3 separate regions of the Homo sapiens genome follow, and regions 2 and 3 are each linked to region 1. The links are contacts of gene promoters, found by promoter capture Hi-C in blood cells and fetal thymus (Javierre and others, 2016). All regions are on one chromosome and are shown on one strand. Each heading gives the region's core, a stretch centred on a gene start or on the middle of the fragment in contact. The rest is flanking DNA. Distances are from core to core; before and after follow the strand shown. Region 1 holds the start of RRAGD (Ras related GTP binding D). Region 2 overlaps MAP3K7 (mitogen-activated protein kinase kinase kinase 7). Region 3 overlaps MAP3K7 (mitogen-activated protein kinase kinase kinase 7).

Region 1 (3,905 bases), core at 945-3,444:
CCTGCCCAGGAATGCCCTATACGTCTGAGTCTGGGTTGACCTTGGACAGTCTTCTAGATCTCCTAAATTGTTATTTGCAGTTTGAATCAGACCAGTTCAAAGGCCACTTGAGGATGGTGGGCTAGCTATAGAATAGCTGAAAGTCCTCAGCCACACTCTGGGAGGCCCTCCTCCCTGGGGTTTCCTTTGACGGAAGGGATGAAAATAGGCTAGGAAAATTACTCCTAGGAAATGAGCTTTGTAAGTACCTGAGATTTTTTTTCCGCCTCATTTAATCTTCCTAATAATCCTTAGAAGGAGTGATGTTCTATTGATAAGCAATCGGGTTTAGAAGGGCATAAGTAACTTGCCTCTGATGGGAGTATGTAGTGCCTGCTTGTGTTGGTGATGCTCCTTGCACCTCACCCCACCCAGGGACCCACTCCCTGCCCTCCCTATCCAATCTCTGTCCTGGACTAGGTTCCAGGCTCCCTTGCCTTCTGGCTACCAGATGGGTTTGGCCAATGGGAGACACAGGAGAGTGGAGGGAGGATGGATGGAGAGAAAGAGAGGTCTTTGCTCTCTCCTTGATGTGAGGCCGTTCTGGCAGCAGCAGCTTCCTCATCAGTTACAGCTCCTGTTTTGTGGCCCCTCTCCAGGACTCTAGCTCCCTTCCTCACTCCTGTAAATTTAGGGGTGGTGTTATCTTCCCACTATCGCTAATACCTGCATTGATTCCCTAAACTCTGTCCACACCCCTGTAAATTGTTCCTTCACTTGAAGGCTTCAGTTAAAGTCTTTGCACATACCGTCTGTTTCATCCTGGGAAGAACCTTAACTGATACAGTCATACCAAATTATACTGCCTGCCTCCCTTGGAAAATCTCAGGACCTTTCCCATTAGAAGCAGCCACCTTCTGGAAAGTGTCTGCATCCACCTTCTGCACTCAGAAATACTAAAAAAAATCCAGGACATGAGTCATGATTTGGTAGACTGTGAGCTCCTTCAGGGCAGGAACACTGCCCTGAGCATTCTTGGACCCTCTACTTAGCCCAGCCTCAGGCATATAGGAGGTGGTTAATAAATGTTTCCTATGGAGGTTAGCACCCTTGGGCCCTGAGAGTCTCCTGCCCTAGCTTCCTCCCTCCGCTTCTGCACCGCACCACCGGCTGAGCTGCTGGCACCTGTAGGAGCTGGATCATCATGCTGACCGGCCGGTTTTTTCTTATTGTGCTCCACAGAAGGAAGTTCATCCACGTAATTTTTTGCAGTACCCAGAAAGGGTGGGTACAGTGTGTTCCGTGGTGAAAAGCTTGTGAAGGAGGAATGCAGGTTTTAGAGTCTCACTCCACGTTGCTGCTATTCCTATTTGAGAATTGCCCCCCCACCACCGCCACTCCCCTACTCCCACAAAAGCCTTGAAATATTTTATTCATGTGGGATTACAGTCTATGCAACAATGAGACATGAGGAGGTGGCCATGAATAGCCCCCGAGTGTGTTATACACTGAGACCTTTTCCAAAGGGCTGCAGAGGAATTATTTAGTCTAAGCAGCCACGAGTCATGTGATTTCTTCAGAAACATTTACGTCTGGGTAGGCCTGCTTTTTAAATATTCTTGGTGGGAAGCACTTTGAACCATAAAGGCACACTAAAAGACAATTGCTATGGAGACTGCGCCTCCACTGTGCATTTATCTGAGTTCTCCGCCTGGGGCTCTTGAGCGTCCACAGGGTGTCCTGGGCACGCTGCTCTGGGGTGGGGGATCTGGGCGCCACAGTGTTGGGAGGCCACCCGCTTGGGACCCTAGCTCAGGACTGTAAGCAGGAGGCATCCGCCCACGGTAGACGCTCTGCGGGCGTGTGGGAGTGGGACGGCGGGGGGGACATTGAGGGTGTGCGGCGCCCCCTCCCCTGCCTGTGCGGGGACCACGTGAAGGAGAGGCGCGTGGGGGCCCCTGGCGCGCAGCCGCGGTGGGTGACGGCCGGCGTCCCGGGGGCCCCGTGTACGGGGCGTGTGTCGGTGTGAGTCTGGGAGGGTGCAGGGGCCCCGCGCCTCCCCGGTCTCCTCGTGCGTGTGCGTGTGCGTGTGCATGTGTGTCCTCGGCCCAGCGCCCCGCCGAGTGGTGCCCGCGGCCGGGCGAGCGCGCGCGCGCCCGTGCGGGGTGTGTATGTGAGTATGTGACAGTGTGTGTCAGGTGACTCGGGTCACGCAGTCTCTCTCTCTCTCCCTCCTCCGGGAGGAACTGCCGCGCTCCGGCTGACTCCTCCGCCGGCGGGCGGGGCGGGGGAGGGGGCTTCGGGCGCGCTGGGAACCGCGGGACCCGGACCTGGGCGCCGCCCGCCGGGGGACGCGCGGCCCCCGCTTCCGCCGGGCCCCGCTGAGCTCTAGACAAACCTCCGCTTCAGAAATAGGCTGCGGGCGGCCGGCTAGGAGGCTTGGCCCCCACCCCGGGACCCCCGCCGTCCCCGGGCCGGCCGGCCGGTGGGCACGATGAGCCAGGTGCTGGGGAAGCCGCAGCCGCAGGACGAGGACGACGCGGAGGAGGAGGAGGAGGAGGATGAGCTGGTGGGGCTAGCGGACTACGGAGACGGGCCCGACTCCTCCGACGCCGATCCGGACAGCGGCACAGAGGAGGGAGGTGAGCGCCCGGCCCCCGCGTCCTCGGCTCGCGCCCCTTTCCTCCCCTTGGCGCCTTCCCGCCCCCAGCCCGGCCGTGCGCGAGCCACCGACTTGGAGGGGGTCCAGGGGAGCGGGTCCAGTTGAGGGTTTGGGGTGGGGAGGGACGCCAAAAGCCCGACCTCGAGCTGCCAAATGAGGGAGCGCGGTGCTGGTGGCGGAGGGGCAACCAGGATCGGTGGAAAAGGGGAAGGAGGGAGTAAGCGTCTGGGCTGGAGGAGCGCGCGCTTCTGCCCCTTTCAGAGCCGGTGCCTCCCGCGCCCCTCACCCCAAGCTCTCCGCAGCGTCTGGCGGTTGGGGAGGGGAGGGGACCGCGGGCGCGCCCTGGGACCTCTCTCCCAGAACGGTGCTGTTGAAGCCAGGGTCAGATGTCGTGGCTAAAAAAAGGCAGCCGGCGGCGGCGTGACTGGCAGGGTCGTCGGCAGCTGCGGGTGTCAGTCTCGCCCCGCGTCGCCGCGGGAGGGGCCCACCCAGGTAGTGGCTGGGGAGACCCGCGGGGCGGCGGGGGGATGCTCGCCAAGCTGTTGTGGGAGTCTCCGAGAGGCCGCAGATTTCCCGGGATCCACGCAAACACCGTTGTCAGGACACCTTATCTGCTCTCGGTATCACCACCTGGACATGGCAGTGCCTGCCCGGGAGTGAGCGCGCGGCGGGGAATTCTTTGCTTCAATAGTGAAGCAAACTCTTTTTCCTGTTCTAGAAGCGGGTTTTAGCAATCGTTCAGCTTGTGGGGGCTTCCTGCATTTTCTTAAGGTGTAAGGAAGTTGAGAGCCTTTTAGTATTCCAGAGAGGTTAAACTTTTTTTAGTTTCCCTCAGAAGCGAGCAAAAGTTCCTTTACTGTAAGGTCACTTGGAAAGGTCAATAGAAAGCGGCTGTTAAACATGATGTTATTCTCAGTGAAACTGTATGCATCCAAGAGAAGGAACTAACTTTAATGTTTCACACTGAAGAAATTGTGTGAGAGATACAAGTACCTTTGTGACTATTGATTTTTAAAGAACTTTTATTGAGAATTCACTGAACTTATTTTAAATTCTCTATGCAAAGCTTTTCTCACTAGGGTAGTTTCATTATTCTACATCTGGCAGGCACGACTTTCAATGAATCAGAAAGGAAATAAAGTTAACTATGCCTTGCGCCTGGTAGATGAGAAAGCAGCCTCTCAAGTCACCCTTTTTCATAGCGTTTTCTCTCTTGGGATGATTTGTGCTAATTCCTCATTTGCTTAAACTGATGTGTGCACCT
Region 2 (3,905 bases), core at 900-3,399, 1.1 Mb before region 1:
CACGTTCATGAGTGCGAGTTGGATGAATTCTTCAGCATGCTGTCCTTTGCCTGTGATTGTGTTTTTAGCAGTGTTGATAATTCTAGTTGAATACCTAATGGTTATTTTCTCCTCTACTAAACTGAAAACTATGTAAGGATAGAATCCATATCTTTGTGCATTATTTTGTTGTTGTTGCTTATTATTGATTGTATCAGCAGTTGCTGGCTCAGTGCTTCACATATTAAGCATATTAACATAGTGTTTAATAAATACATTTATTAAATAAATGAACAGACCTATTGAGCATCTCCCCTGGTGAGAAACTAGCATACAAAAATATGAATTATACTATTCTTAGGTGCCATTTTGTCTGTATAAAACTATCTTATATTAATTTTCCCCTGGTTATCAAAGTGGTTTCTTATTTTACAACATCATTACTATTGCTATTCAAAGAGTAGAGTTAACCCATTTTTCACATGGTAATTTTTATTTATTGAATCTGGACTGCTTCAGAAATTAACAAAGAGATCATTTTACATGGAGATCAGTTTACCTCCATGCGGAAAGGTACTGTGTATAAGGGACGTACTTTAAAGAGGTGGAAGCATTTAAACTTACATACCGCTGAACTGTGCTTCCCTTAAATGTTTGAGGGAATCAGGAAAATTTAGACAGATGGCAGTGTAATCTTATGACTAAGCATTAAGAATAAATTTATATATGGCAGCGTAGCCCACGCTATACAAGATAATGGGGGAGGGAAAAATAAGGAAAGAATAATAGTTTATAACTGTCAGGTACTACTGGCATCTAGTGGGCAGAGACCAGGGATGCTGCTAAACATCCTGATGTGTACCAGGCAGTCTTCTCCAACAAAGAATGATCCAGCCCAAAATGGCAGCAGTGCTGAGGCTGAAAACCCCTGATTAGATGTTCTTTGTGCCCTACAAAGTAGCTTAAAGTACATCTTATTTTACCTTTATACAATCTTACAACTAGGTTATCGGATGAAATTATAGCTGTTTAACAGACGAAGAACTTAGATCTGATGATGTTTAGTGGTTTTTCCAGAATCATATAGCCAGGACCCCAACCCAGATCTTCTGACTCCAAGTCACATCCATTTTTTGTTCTTTTGTTTAAGTCAGAGAAGCTAGAGTAATTTCTTCTTGCTTTCTCTTAGTGTTCACATTAAGGAGAGCTCTTCAGCCAGGGAGATCCTCTTTTATGACATTGGGCCTTTATGGAATCAGGTAACCTTAATTCTCTTAATTGCCAGAGCAGCAGTGCTATTCATATGAAAATATTATTCAGTAATACCTTTTATTAAATATTCTTTTTAGGCTTTTCCCCCCTCAGATATCAAACATTAACTTACTCAGGTGCACTTTCTTTAATAGAAGAATACAAGCTGTAGAATTGACACTAGTGGACATAAAAGCCAATCATGAATGTGCTCATAGGTAATGTTTTTAAATTAAATATAAAAATACCGCCCATCCTTTGGGAATATCTCAAATTTCCTACATGACATTTTAATTGTAAAGAAGGGTGATACTTAATTTCCAAAATTTCTTAATACTTTCTAGAAATTGTTTTGTTCTAAGTGGATTTCCCACAAGCTTTATGGTATTAGCAAATACTTCTTGATATATTCAAACTGTTTAATTAGCATTAAAACCCAATTGCAAGGATTCTTTTTAAATATAGCTTTTTAAAGATCTTATTTACATGGATAAGAGTTTCGTTAATACTTCCCTTTGGCCAAGTGCAATGTACTGAGTCTAATGTACTTCTTGGAATGAACTACCTCTCTTAATAAGAGCAATCCTTCAAGCATCACAAAAAAGGTTTTGTATATATATCTTTAAAGTCACTAAAATGTCTAACCTAGTCATAGGTAAAGAAATGCAAAGACCCTAATCTTGTAATCTTGTTTTTTGCTCGCTCTTCAAAATGTGTATACTATGCCATCAGTCAAATGTGGAAGAAAAAGCAACTTAGCAAAACAGCACTATTTATCAATTTAGTAGTCTCTCAGATCATACAGAAATTAACCTTTAATACCTTAGGACTCCCTGTGGGTCAGACTGTACAATTTTTTATACCTCTTCTACCATATTACTGGCTCTGAAGAACTGACAAACTTTTGTACGGTAACCCTTCCTTCTTTCCACTGTCCATCTGCCCTTAAAAGAGTGAGCTTTATAGATTAGCCTGGCTCCTTTTTACCAAGGAAGACACGCAGCTAAGAGCAAATTACCAGTAGAGTGTGTGACATTTTGCTGACTCTTCCTTTGTAGAGAAGGTCCTGCCAAGTAGCAGTGTGCTACCTAAGCAAAGTAAATGTAAATGTGGAAGTTTCTTGCCCAGTATTTAGACCATATGAACTACAGTTTTCTAATGCATTTGCTTGCTGGTAAGTTGGAAGGGACTTCGAGAAAAGAAATAGATTTTCTTAAATGTTTTTTATTAAAACTTGAGTTTTAAAAACCATATCCTTTCTCCTTTCAGCCAGTACATCTAATTTGTTACATTTATATTTGAAGAAAAGGGAATAGGTAGCAGATTATTGGATTCTTTGAAGTTTTTCTAGATTTTTTTTGTTCTAGGACTTTAATAAGGGCAGTAAGAACACAGATCATTGTTTTGCATGGATTTTCTTTACTTTTTCCCATATTTTCTTTTTGTCACTATCTAAGCTTCCAAGAATCTATTTTTCACCCACCTTCATCTCAAGTACACAAATGAAATAGATTATTGGGATTGTGAAACTATGTAAGACATTCTAATGCAGTTCATCTGATGTTAGAAGAATACCTAAATTTTACATTTCTTTTAAAAATCCAAATGTCAAAGAGGAACAGGTAGAATGCCTAAATATTACAAAAAAAGAGGAACAACCTTTTTCAGTTTAACATGTAGAGTAAGAGAATAAGTAGTTAAGAAAGCGAATTATTTTTCATGCTTGTAGCATCAGTAATGGAAGATGGGTTGTTCTGCTCTGGAGCCTTTGTGTGAGTAGTTATAGCATTTAAGGAAATAAACTGTAATTATAATGCATTCTAAAATCTACTGGAAAAAAATACTGTCATATACATATATACTTACCACCTATAAAAGATTTAATTAAACATTAGTCTTCTGCACTTCTACTCTGATATAAAATTTGTTGTACATGGTTCATACCGGCTTGATTGCTTTTATAAAGTGAAATGAGTTTCCCAAATGTGATATGCAAAAGTAAAATTTTCTAAATTACAGACATTTTTAATGCTATTATATCATCATAGATAAATTTATTTCTTAGTTCAGATTAGATTATAATGCTTGATTTCAAGTACTTGAAAACCATCCATTCTATAGATGAACATTGCCTTGAAGTGCTTCAATTTGAGAACCTTGAACAGTGTTGCTTTAGTGTACCTTTTGTTATTTCTAAGCCTAAAATAATATGGCATAACATTCGAGAGCAATAAAATGCCTTGACCAAAGAGGATTTTCTGTCTTACATACTGTTCTTAAGGATATGCAAAAGAAGATTGAATATACAAATGTTTTTGAGTCAGATCTTACTGAAATAGATAAGATTTTTGCCTAGTTTCCTGAAGAACCTGAACTTAATTGATATTTATTGTTTGTTATATCATTCTTAAAGCTAAAAAGAAACCTTAGGTGTCCTTATGATTTCAGCCGCATTTAGATCTCTTAACTGAATAAAAAACGCGTATTCGCTTTTAATTTCAGTCAAGGACGTTTAGCTCTATTGTATATTGGTTTTTTACTAACAGTATGATAAGTAGTAAATTGGAGTAAGTAGAATGTAGAGAGGCCCAAACATTTTAACTGAAAAATAGATGAGTAGTTAGGCTTCTAATACTTGTATCTTGTTGCCCTCCTTCAGAAGTTTCAAATGTCAG
Region 3 (3,905 bases), core at 388-2,887, 1.1 Mb before region 1:
ATTCTCTCTGATATTAATATAGGTACCTTATTTGGGGTAGTTTTTGCCTGGTTTTCTTTTTTTATCCTTTAACTTTCTGTTTTCTCTGTCTCTGTAAATTAGATATGTCTCTTATAAATAGCATTTAATTCATCCTGACAATCTGATTTTTTTTTAAATATCTTAACTGGAGAGTAATTCATTTACATTTATTGTGGTTACTGATAAGTTTGCTCTCTTATGTTTTATTTCTCTTTCTTTTCTTTCAAGTTTTGAGTTGAATAAATTTATTCTTCATTTTATTATTTTCTTTCTGGTTTGGGAGTTATATATTAATTACTACTTTTAGTAAATACCTTTGAAATTTTAACATTCATGCCCAACCTAGTAAAGATCTGTACCCTCATCCTGAACAATATTTAAAACAAGGAGTTTTAAGTCAGTGCTTTTCATGCTTGTGCTATTGTTATTATAATTTTAGTGCCATCTTGTTTGTTTGATAATTCTATAAATTCACTGTTTCTGTCACTGAATGTTTTCAGTGTGTAGATTTATTTCCCTGTTTATCACTATTCCTTATTGCATCTTGATCCTTCTATCAAGTAAAATTTTTCTTCTTCCAAAAATACATGCTTGAAAAACTTATGTGGTAAGAATGTATGGAAGGTAAACTCAGTTTTTGCCCATCTAAGAATGTTATTTTGGCCTCTATCTTCAAATTTTGTTGGCTAGACAATTCTAGACTGGCAGTTATTTTTCAGCACTTTGAAGATATTGTTCTGCTTTCTTCTGGCTGCTTTTTCTGTCTCCTGTTGATTGTTTCCTAGAATTTGAATGTATACGTTCCATGTTGAACTCAATTTGTGAGCTTCCTCCTATTTCTTATGCTGGGGATTTGTTGTGGTTGGAATTTGTTGTAACCTGCATCCAATCTGGAAATTTTTTGTGGATTCACAGTTAATACATTTCTCCCTTCCACCCAGAGCCACTAACCCAAGAGAGACAAATTTGTTTCCTGTCTGCTTTTGTAGGTCAGATTTTTTTTTTCCTAGTTGAGTGACCTTTTCTCTGAGAGTGAAGCCTTTGCTGAGTTTTAGCTTTAAGCAGAGGTTTCTCCAGTCTTACTTCCATCCTACAAAGGCCCAAGGCTTTATGGTCCATTCCTCTGAGTGCAGCAGCCTGTGAAAACAGTAGCTCTAGGCCATTGGTGTTTAGTTGAAATTCCGAGGGCTGTCAGCTTAAGCACTTACTAGTTTCCTGATATTGTTTTGTTTCTAATCTCAGAGTATTTCTTAGTTTCTTGCAAGCTCATCAGTTTTTAATAGGTATCATGCGTGAGTGAATATAAATTTTTACATATATATAAGAGAGGATTTATTTTGTTGTTTACAAGAGTTTTGGGGGGATCTCTAAGTCTCTTCTTGCCTTTTAATGGAAACGTTCTCGTCATTTTTTTTAATCAAAAAATCACATTTTGTTTCTCCTGTGACTTCTTCCTGTAGGTGAGCAGTAGGTCATCCAGTCCCAGTGTCAGAATGATTACTACCTCAGGACCAACCTCAGAAAAGCCAACTCGAAGTCATCCATGGACCCCTGATGATTCCACAGGTGACCAGTCTGTTTCTTCATACTTATGAAGTTGAATCAGTCATGTTTATATTCATTTGGCCATGTCATTACTCTAATGTTTACAAAGGCAGGCATTATACTGTTGTTTAGATTTTTATATTAAATAAACTATTTAGTAATACATGTTAAAATACCATTTTGAATACAGAGACAGAGACTGCCTTGCCTTCTGTATTTTTTTTAATCCAGATACTAAACATGTATTTTAAAGATTGTCTGTTTGGGGTTTTTTTCCAGTTGCGAAGCGTATTGAATTCTTGATACTTCAGCCTGTGATTTTCCTACTAGATTCATCCTACTAGATGATAGTAGTAAAGTCATTTTTTCAGTAACCAAAATCGGAGAATGGTAAAAATCATCCCCATCATCTTCATCTCAATCTTTTAAGGACACGAGATGTCATGTACCTTAAGTTGAAAAAAATTCTGACCATTGACCTTTTGAATTGTTTTTAACTGATAAGAGACACCATTTTCAGTTATACAAATATTCTATTAGACCTTTAGAAACCTGTGATGAGTTATTAAAGCTCCCCAACATGAATAACTAACTGTTCACAATATTAGTATTAATGTCTACCTGCCTAAAGGTAGTGACGGCATCGTTTCATTATGGGCAAACAGGAAATGATGTGCCATAGTAGAATTAACTTTTCCCTAACTTTAAGAGAATACCTTGATAAATGCTTTTAAGTGTACTTATGAAATTTTTTATTTATATTATATTAAGTCACGAAGGGAAAGATGATCTCTTAGCCCTTGGAAAATTAAAGCATTTGATATTTTATATAAGATCGACTATGTTATTAATAGTAACAATTAGATTGAAGTTTAAAAGCCAGCTTTCTGTCTTTACAAACTAAAATACAACTCAAGTATTTATAGTTATCTGATGTGGTTTGGTCAAGTTTATAATTTAATTTAAAAAATTAACTGGGTGGTTTTTCTGTGTGTCATGTAAGATAGAACTATGTTTAGCCAGGGTGTACTCTCTAGTTTTAGTAAGTTTAAATTTAGTGGCGGCAAAAACTCCTGTTTCACCCCTAGCACAGCCCAACCTAGGACTGTCCAGAGCATTCACCACTACGCAGCACATGTGTAGAATTCATTATAGACTTGCTCCTCCCCAGTGGTAGACAGGGCAATGCTCTTGCCCAGTTTTATCATTAACATTCAGGTGATAGCAGCTCTTTTTGATTTCTGAACCCCCTGGCAAGGGAGTACGTTCTCTGACATTACAGCATTTGCCCGGGTCTGGTACTCAACTCAGCAGAGCCTTCTGTCTTCAGTCTACACTAATCTGTATATGCCAGTCAATAGTGTGGCAGATTGTGACTTCATGGGGGTAAAATAAAAAATGTTTAAGGCTCTCTCTCACATAACTGCTACATTTCTGCCTCATATGTTGCTTCTACCTTCCAACTCCCGTCCCATTGTTTTCTTTTTCTGTACCTAGAAACACCACAAAATACCAATTGCTAGAAATAATTTGCAATATCAGCTGAATTTTGTCTTTGCCTTGAAATATATTGCACATGTGTGGCTATAATTTTGAATACATTTTAAAAATGGATGCTCTGGTTTAAGTTTATAATTAATTCAGCTGTGCAGTATTTGTAAGAAAAATATTGATAACCAAGCTAATAGAATAAATTAGGGAACAGATAGGTAAAGTCTTTTTCTTTGAAGGCCCACTGACCAAGGAAAAAATTAAGAGTGTAAATGTAAGTTAAAGTGACCTAATTAAATTTTTTTAATTTGAGAGGTTTTTGTATATTTTCAGAGAAAGCTAAAGAGCATAACAATTTAATAATCATAGCCGATAATAAGCGCTCTTCAGTTCCTATTTATAATATAATGGGTATTCAAAAAGACACACATACTGAGAGGATCTAGTGAGAGAGAGATCTAGACGCAGTAGAGGGAGCCGCAGAGGGGGAAACTCACTAAAGAATTTTCACCTTTGCTTAGTACTTTGCAAACATGTATTAATATAAAGTGTAAGACATGGCCCATTCCTTGCAGTCTGGTTAGAGTCATAATACTGACACATTAAAAGTAAACTTATACTATATAATAACTTACTAAATTTATAGTACAAGCTGAGTGTTTTGATAGTTGTAAGAGAAATCAGTTCAACAAGACTTGGCATAGTCTCTGGCCTTTTCATAAAATGATGAGACTTTTCTTTAGCCATAAAGCAGAAAGGAGAAGGCAGCATTCCACTGAAGGGAATGCATACTCAAAGAATATGAGATAGTAACAAGTGTTGTGTTTGAGGGGTCAGAAAAGAGAGTT

Evidence for each region. The method cuts DNA at HindIII sites, captures the fragments that hold promoters and counts their contacts. A CHiCAGO score of 5 or more calls a contact.
Region 2: a contact is called between a fragment that was not itself captured here and the fragment with the promoter of RRAGD in region 1, in 1 of 17 cell types (naive CD4 T cells). The highest score is 6.2, in naive CD4 T cells.
Region 3: a contact is called between a fragment that was not itself captured here and the fragment with the promoter of RRAGD in region 1, in 1 of 17 cell types (total CD4 T cells). The highest score is 5.3, in total CD4 T cells.

The regions. Positions count from the first base shown.
Region 1 is chr6:89,410,562-89,414,466 of GRCh38, reverse strand. RRAGD (Ras related GTP binding D) reads left to right here and starts at 2,194. Exons shown (of 7, transcript NM_021244.5): 1 at 2,194-2,621. The coding sequence starts at 2,474. RefSeq lists silencers at 1,778-2,967, 2,998-3,107, 3,138-3,237. The HindIII fragment of the contact is 2,415 bases long and covers 1,295-3,709 here.
Region 2 is chr6:90,539,793-90,543,697 of GRCh38, reverse strand. All of the region lies in intron 12 of MAP3K7 (mitogen-activated protein kinase kinase kinase 7), which reads left to right. Among named protein-coding and RNA genes, the nearest start is that of MAP3K7, 45 kb to the left of the region's middle. RefSeq lists a silencer at 2,162-2,362. The HindIII fragment of the contact is 1,080 bases long and covers 1,610-2,689 here.
Region 3 is chr6:90,521,360-90,525,264 of GRCh38, reverse strand. MAP3K7 (mitogen-activated protein kinase kinase kinase 7) reads left to right here. Exons shown (of 17, transcript NM_145331.3): 14 at 1,482-1,587. Among named protein-coding and RNA genes, the nearest start is that of MAP3K7, 64 kb to the left of the region's middle. The HindIII fragment of the contact is 5,232 bases long and covers 1-3,905 here.